2 separate regions of the Homo sapiens genome follow, and region 1 is linked to region 2. The links are contacts of gene promoters, found by promoter capture Hi-C in human tissues and cell types (Jung and others, 2019). All regions are on one chromosome and are shown on one strand. Each heading gives the region's core, a stretch centred on a gene start or on the middle of the fragment in contact. The rest is flanking DNA. Distances are from core to core; before and after follow the strand shown.

Region 1 (3,623 bases), core at 503-3,002, 280 kb before region 2:
GCTAACAGTTAGACCCTCGCCCTTGGGCTGGATGAAATCCCACTGCAGTTTCTCTACAACTGTGAACCCAGTACCGCACCTGACAGTCTACGCAGCTTCCTTTCCTGAAACATCTTGCCTTTCAGGCGGGTGTCTATGGTCATGTCTGTGTGTACTACGAGCGAGCAAGAAAGACCCCAACCAGAGGTCCCATTCGAGGCCTGGATAAGCACGCCGGGCGGAACTACTCTGCCCCTCACCCTCCCAATACATCTGCACTCAGGACTCCGACCTTCCTTCCTTGACATATCTGCACGTGCTGCTCCTTCCCCCCCCGGAAGGCCCTTCTTCCCACTCTCCATCTGTCACCTCCTACTCATCCTTCCTAGACAGAAAAAGCCGTCCGTCCAGTCAGTCTCACCAGTGCCTCCCGCTCTGTGGCCCCCTGCAGCTCCCTAAGTCACCTCGATCACGACACGCAGGAATTGTGACTGTCCGGCTCTGCCTTTGTACCCCCTCCAGGGACCGGCCCCACCTCCAGGGCAGGGCCTAGGGCTGATGCCCCCTCCTCGGTGCCCAGCGCCAGGCTCCCTGCCTGCCCTCAGCAGGCTTCATCTCACTGAAGCAGGCCCGAGTGGTGGCTGCTCCAGAGAAGCCCCGCTCCCAGGTCCCTCGCACAAGAAGCCGGAGGCGGGAGAGGGTCGGTCAAGGTGAAAACAAGCCCCGCTCCTCCAGTCCTGAGCTCCGGGGATCTAAGGAGGCTGCGCCACGGAAGAGGTGGCGGGGCAGAGATCGGGGCGAGAGGGAAGGGTGTAAGCAGGCAAAGTCCAGGGTAACCAGGGAGAAAGACTCCTGGGGGGCCGGGGAACCGGCCAGAGAGGCAAGAGAGCGGAGCTGAGGCTCAGGGACTGGGGAGCGCAGCTGCAGAGAGCGAGTGGGAAAAGGCCGAGAGCAAGAGACTGAGACTAGGGTGGCGGCGGAGCTGAGGTGAAGAGATTAAGAGACTGGGGAGGGTCGAGGGGGAAGAAACGGGGTGCCGTGGAGAGGAAACCCGAAGGAAGGAGGGAAAGGATCCGAAGCAGAAAAGACCCGCGGGGGTCCCGAGAGGGAAAAGCCTGAGGGGACGCGGAGAGGGGAAGACGTGGGCGCCTGGCCCTGGAGAGAGAGGGTCGGGCGACGCGGGCCGCTCACCTGCGAGGGGGGGCGGCGGCTCCTCGCACTCGGGGCTCATCGGGGCGCCCCCCCCCGCCCCGCCGCCGGCGGCTCCGGCCCCTGCTGCGGGGCCCGGTGAGTGGGGGCGGGGGCGGCGTCGGGGACTCGCGCAGGCGCCGGGGCTCGCGGGGTCCGCGCAGGCGCCCGCGGGTCGTGGGGTCCTCGCGCGCCGGGTCCTGCAGAGTTGAGGGGGTCAGCGCCGGGTGGAGTTGCCGACGGGCGGGGGGCGTCACTAGTCCGCGTAGGCACCTCCGGGGTCCGCAGGCGAGGTGGGCGTGCGGGCCGAGGCGGGTTGGCGAGCCGGGTCGCGAGGCCCACGCAGGCGCCTCAGCCGGGAAGACGGGGGAAGTTGCCCCGGTTTCCACAGTCCAACCGAGCGCCCCACGGGAGGGGAAGGCGACCTCCTCCGCGGTCCAAACGGGCCGCAGAGCCGAGCAGCGACCGACGGAAGCCGAGGCCTACTTCCTTAACCACCCCTTCCCCAAAGCCGCTCAATCTCCGGGCTCTGCGGCCGGCCTCAGGGCCTCCGACGCCCGGCTCCCTCCGCCACTATCCCACAATCCCCCTAGCGCAGGACGACGCAGGAGGCCCCGCCCTCCCGCGGCTGTGTTGGTGCGCAGGTGCGGGGGGCGGGGTGCACGCCTGGGCGGTGCAGTGCGCGTGCGCCCGGGCGCTCCCGACACCGCCCACTCTTGAACCCCGCCGCCGCAGACGCGCTTGCGCCCGTTGGTGCCAACGGTCTGCCCCGGAATAAACCCAGACAGCTCAGTGAGCCGCAGCTGCGCACCGGCTCCGTTCCAAGGCCCCGTGAATATTCCGCTCCAGGATTTCCCTTCCCACTCGCTCCGTTTGGAAATCCGTTCGCTGTTCTGTCTCCTCTAATCATAGTGGAGCTTTGGCTCCAGGGTCGGGCTCTTGCGAAATCCAGACCTGGTTTTCGCTCCAGCCAAAGCCAGGCGCCTTCGTTCCGTCCGGCTCTCGCGCTTAGCCGCCTCCGAGCCTCAGAGGCCCTCAGTCGTTTCCGTCTGCTGGCGATAGTCCCGGCCGGGTCGCTGGTGTTGCCAGTTCCGCCCAAAGCAGCTTCTAATAGCATCAACTGAAAGAGACCTCCTAGACCTTGTGTCTAGATTGATGAAGGTCCCTCTGGCTTTGAGCCTCGGTTTCCCCAACTTTAATAGCTCCCCTCTCTACCCATGTTAGAGGCCTACTGTAAAAATCGTGTGGGCGCGAGGAACTTTTTTGTTTTTGTTTTTGTTTTAAGACTCCGAATTGGCCGGGCGCGGTGGCTTACGCTTGTAATCACAACACTTTAGGAGGCCCGAGGCCGGAGGATGGCATGAGACCAGGAGTTGGAGACCAGCCTGGGCAACCTAGGGAGACCCCCGTCTCTACAAAAGAAAATTTAAAAAATTAGTTGGGCCTGGTGGCCCGCGCCTGTGGTCTCAGCTATTCGGGAGGCTAAGGCAGGAGAATCGCTTGAGCCGAGGCTGCAGTGAGCCGGATTGCACCACTGCACTCCATCCTAGGAGACAGAGCGAGAACCTGTCTCAAAAACAAAGGGCCCAGCGTGGTGGCTCACGCCTGCCTGTACTTGAGCTCAGGAGTTCAAGACCCCACGCCTATAATCCCAGCACTTTGGGAGGCCGAGGTGGGCGGATTGCCTGAGCTCAGGAGTTTGAGACCAGCCTGGGCAACACAGTGAAACCACGTGTCTACTAAAATACAAAAAATAGCCGGACGTGGCGGTGTGCGCCTGTAATCCCAGCTACTCAGGAGGCTGAGGCAGGAGAATTACTTGAACCCGGGAGGTGGATGTTGCAGTGAGCCCAGATCAGGCCACTGCACTCCAGCCTGGGTGACAGAGCGAGACTCCGTCTCGAGAAAAAAAAAAAAAAAAAAAAAGAGCAAATTCACCCCTCCTTTGCCCTCTTTGTTCTATTGAGACCCTCAATGGATTGGATAATGCCAGCTCACACTGGGGAGGGAAGATCTTTATTCAGTCTACCGATTCAAATGCTAGTCTCTTCCAGAAATACCCTCATAGACACACCCATAATGTTTTACCAGCTATCTGGACATCCCTTAGCCCAGTCAACACCTGAAATGAACCATCACAGAGAGGCATTTCCTTTTCTCTTTTTTCTATAGAGATGTTTTGTCTTTTACCCAGCATTTGGCTTCCTTGTTTTCTCCACAATATGATGGCATCATTGCCACACTGTTTTAACACAGAGGTCAGGAACTGAGGGATAAGGATGTGGCTATAGTCCCTACCCTTCAAATGGAAGCTGGGAAGCTGTGGGGGCTTTAATGACTGAAGTCTGGATTTCCACCCAGCAGAACTCACAGATATACATTGTGTTTGCATTAGAATTGAAACTTTTTTTTAAGAGACAGGGTCTGGCTCTGTCGACCAGGCTGGAGTGCATGGC
Region 2 (3,681 bases), core at 982-3,481:
GTAATCCCAGCTACTCGGGGGGCTGAGGCACAAGAATCACTTGAACTTGGAAAGCGGAGGTTGCAGTGAGCTGAGATTGTGCTACTGCACTCCAGCCTGGGCAACAGAGCGAGACTCCATTTCAAAAAAAAAAAAGAAAGAAAAAAGTCAAAAGTTCTGTTGTGGAAGCGCCTGCCTTTGTTATGGCAGCCCCAGCAGATGAATGCACACTTTTTCTGCATTCATGCTAGGAGATTTTTGAAGGCAGGGACTGGCTCTGGTTCAATTCTGGGTCCACTGCCCGCCCAACCCCCCCAGCACAGGGCTGGCCTCAGAAGGCGTGCCCTGAACTGACTGACCTCAGGTTGCCTCCCTATTTTCCGTTTCATGGAAGGACACGGTGCTTGGCAGAAAGGCCCAGGGTAGTGGGGAGCTGTCCTGCGCACCCACTGTGTGCCGGCCTTGCTAAGTGCTTAGCAGACAGCATCACTCTGCATCATCCCACGGTGACCACTACAGCCGCCACAGGAGGCTCCTGAGCTGGGAGCTCTGTCTTACCCAGCATTATACAACCCCAGCAACTAGAGCAGTCCACATTCACTCAGAGGATCCACCATTCTTCCAAGTAGAAATCATCACCCACATTTTCCAAAGGAGGAAGCTGAGACTCAGAGAGGGCAAGGGAGTTCCTCAAAACACAGTTTTTGGCAGGGCACCGTGGCTCATGCCTGTAATCCCAGCAATTGGGAGGCTGAGGCAGGCGGATCACTGGAGGCCAGGAGTACGAGACCACCCTGGCCAACAGAGTGAAACCTCATCTCTACTAAGAAAGAAAAATACACACACACACAAATGTAGCTGGGTGTGGTAGTGCATGCCTATAGTCCTAGCTACATGGGAGGCTGAGGCAGGAGGAACACTTGAACCTGGGAGGTGGAAGTTGCAGTGAGATTGTGCCACTGCACTCCAGCCTGGGCGGCAGAGCCAGACTGTCTCAAAAACAACCAACCAACCAAAAGAACAAAAAACAAAAAACACACAGCTTTGGAGGGCAGAGGTAAGACTTGATTCAGGCCTGCCAGCCTCCCCAGCCTGGGCTACCCCAGGCCCGTGCCCCGCCCCCAGCTGAACCCTGCCACCTCTGGCCCCACAGCCTCGTACCTTTCTGACGATGGGTGACCAGAAGGACGCGGCCATAGCAACCCTGGCCCAGGGGACGCACTTCCTCGTAGAGCTCGTCCACCTCGGCTCGGACCAGGGTCTGAGCACTCAGCGTCATCATGTCCTCCAGCGCGCGGGCAGCCTCCTGGCCCTGCTGGAGCTCCTCTAATGTCAGGCCGCCCAGACCCTCCTCCTCGCTGTCCTCCGAAGCCCCTGCCTCCGCCGGCCCTTCCTCAGACTGTTTGCCGGGCATCTCTGCGAGAACAGAGAGGGGTGCCCAGGCTCAGGTCCCAGGCCCAAGGGAGGAGGGGACTGGGGGTCTGGACTCCTGGGTCTGAGGGAGGAGGGGCTGGGGGCTCATCGCGCTTCTCATTGTGACTCAGTCTCCCTCTTGGTGAGAGGTGGGGAGACAAGTCTGGTGTGAGTTCAAGCCCCAGGTCACAGATGTCCCTGCCCGCGTGCCGCCGCCGCCACCCGCCCACCCTGAGGTTGAAAGATGAACCAGATAACTGAGACTCCCCCATCTTGTTTCCAAAGCAAACAGACTTGGGCCCTGGGGGTGGATGAGTAGACTCTGTCTCCTGAGAACAAACAGGTGCTCTTGGGCTCAGGGCTGGGAGGGCGGGCTGTGCAGAGGGCCTGGGACGCCTGGGTCCTGCATGGGACCGAGCACTTGGGATCAGTCCCCAAGCTCCTGACAGGCCTGGGGTCCCACTTTCACAGCCCACCCACCTCCCTCCGACCCAGCCCCCCAGCCCCTCCTCCGCCAGGCCCAGGGGTCCAGGCCCCCAGCCCACCTCTCTCCCGGAACCTCATACAATTCACACAACTGGGGACCCCCTGATTCTGTTTCCCTCACCCTCCACCGCTCTACAGCCTCCAGGTGCAGCCCAGGCTCCCCTGAGGGACCGAGGACTCGGGCCACCTGGTACAGTCACCCTCAGGTGCTGCCCACCTCAGGCCAGGGCACCTTGCCCACCTCCCAACCTGGGCTCAGACCTCCAGACCTCACCTCCTCCAAGGCCCTCCTGACCCTCCGGCCGCCGGCTGTGGTCAGTGCCCGGCACTTAGGGCTCATGCCAGCAGAGGCCTGCCTAGGAGCAAGACCCCGCCCCGACTTTGGGGGTCGTAAGGCCCCGCCCCTGGGCCCGCCCCTTCTGCCCCCACTGGGAGCAGAGCGACATCGTGTGATGACTCCTGGAACTGGCTGTGGTCAGGTGAATACCCTGACCCAAGAGTTGAGCCCTCCTCCTTCAGACCCAGGAGTCCAGGCCCCAGCCCCTCCTCCTCCCTCAGACTCAGGAGTCCAGGCCCCCAGCGCCTCCTCCCTCAGACCCAGGAATCCAGTCTCCCAGTGCCTCCTCCCTCAGACCCAGGAGTCCAGGCCCCAGCCCCTCCTCCCTCAGACCCAGGAGTCCAGGCCCCCAGCTCTTCTTCCCTCAGACCCAGGAATCCAGGCCCCCAGCTTTCCCTCCCTCAGACCCAGGAATCCAGTCCCCCAGTGCCTCCTCCCTCAGACCCAGGAGTCTAGACCCCAGCCCCTCCTCCCTCAGACCCAGGAGTCTAGGTCTCCAGCCCCTCCTCCCTCAGACCCAGGAATTCAGGTCTCCAGCCCCTCCTCCCTCAGACCTAGGAGTCCAGACCCCCAGCCCCTCCTCCCTCAGACCCAGGAGTCCAGGCCCCAGCCCCTCCTCCCTCAGACCCAGGAGTCCAGGCCCCAGTCCCTCCTCCCTCAGACCCAGGAGTCCAGGCCTCAGCCTCCCCCACCCATCTGAAGTTTTCCGGCAGAACTGAGGCCTCCCCACCCCCTCAAGGCCTCTCTTCCCAGTTGCTCCAGCACCTGCTTCCCGCCCCTCTGAGTCTGAGGTCATCCCACACTGCATCGTTCTGGAATCTCATTGTCTCATTCTTTCCCCAAACTAGACCCCAGCATCTGATCCCCTGGACACCCCTCTCCAAGCACTTGTGTCTGACCTGTCAATGGGGCATTGATGGGGCAGCTGGGTGGGGTCAAGGCAGGGGTGGGTTCCAGAAATGATTTCATTTTCTACACGGGACCCGGACTCCTGGGCCTGATGGAGGAGGGGGTTGAGGACCTGGACTCCTAGGTCTGAGGGAGGAGGGGGTTGAGGACCCGGACTCCTGGGCCTGAGGGTGGAGGGGGTTGAGGACCTGGACTCCTGGGCCTGAGGGAGGAGGGGGTTGAGGACCTGGACTCCTGGGTCTGAGGGAGGAGGGCCTGAGGGCTCCTGATTCCAAAGAGAGGAATAACAATAAAAATAGTTTGAAAGCGCATAACAGGAATACAGGCCAGTGAGTGCCTCCCTGCTGTAAGCACAGGGAGATTAAGCCCCACTAGGAAGTCCCCAAGCCTTGGGCCACAGTGGGACTTCAGACCCCTGTTTTTTTCTGGGACGGTTGCACCCACCCTTCAGGGTTTTTTATTTCTTTTTTTTTTTTTTTTTTTTGCTTTTTGAGACGGAATCTCGCTCTGTCACCCAGACTGGAGTGCAGTGACGTGATCTCGGCTCACTGCAACCT

What was found. Contacts are between HindIII fragments. The study calls those that stand out against the background at their distance.
Region 1: a contact is called between the fragment with the promoter of PPP6R1 here and the fragment with the promoter of SBK2 in region 2, in 2 of the 25 tissues and cell types used here (adrenal gland and aorta).

The regions. Positions count from the first base shown.
Region 1 is chr19:55,257,265-55,260,887 of GRCh38, forward strand. It overlaps PPP6R1 (protein phosphatase 6 regulatory subunit 1), which reads right to left and starts at 1,753. Exons shown (of 24, transcript NM_014931.4): 1 at 1,171-1,753. RefSeq lists silencers at 1-26, 1,211-1,270, 1,441-1,540, 1,671-1,950, 1,857-2,151 and enhancers at 1,001-1,975, 1,981-2,180, 2,211-2,260, 2,341-2,390. The HindIII fragment of the contact is 34,304 bases long and covers 1-3,623 here.
Region 2 is chr19:55,534,902-55,538,582 of GRCh38, forward strand. It overlaps SBK2 (SH3 domain binding kinase family member 2), which reads right to left and starts at 2,232. Exons shown (of 4, transcript NM_001370096.2): 1 at 2,153-2,232; 2 at 1,141-1,395. The coding sequence starts at 1,393. RefSeq lists a silencer at 2,841-3,135. The HindIII fragment of the contact is 44,152 bases long and covers 1-3,681 here.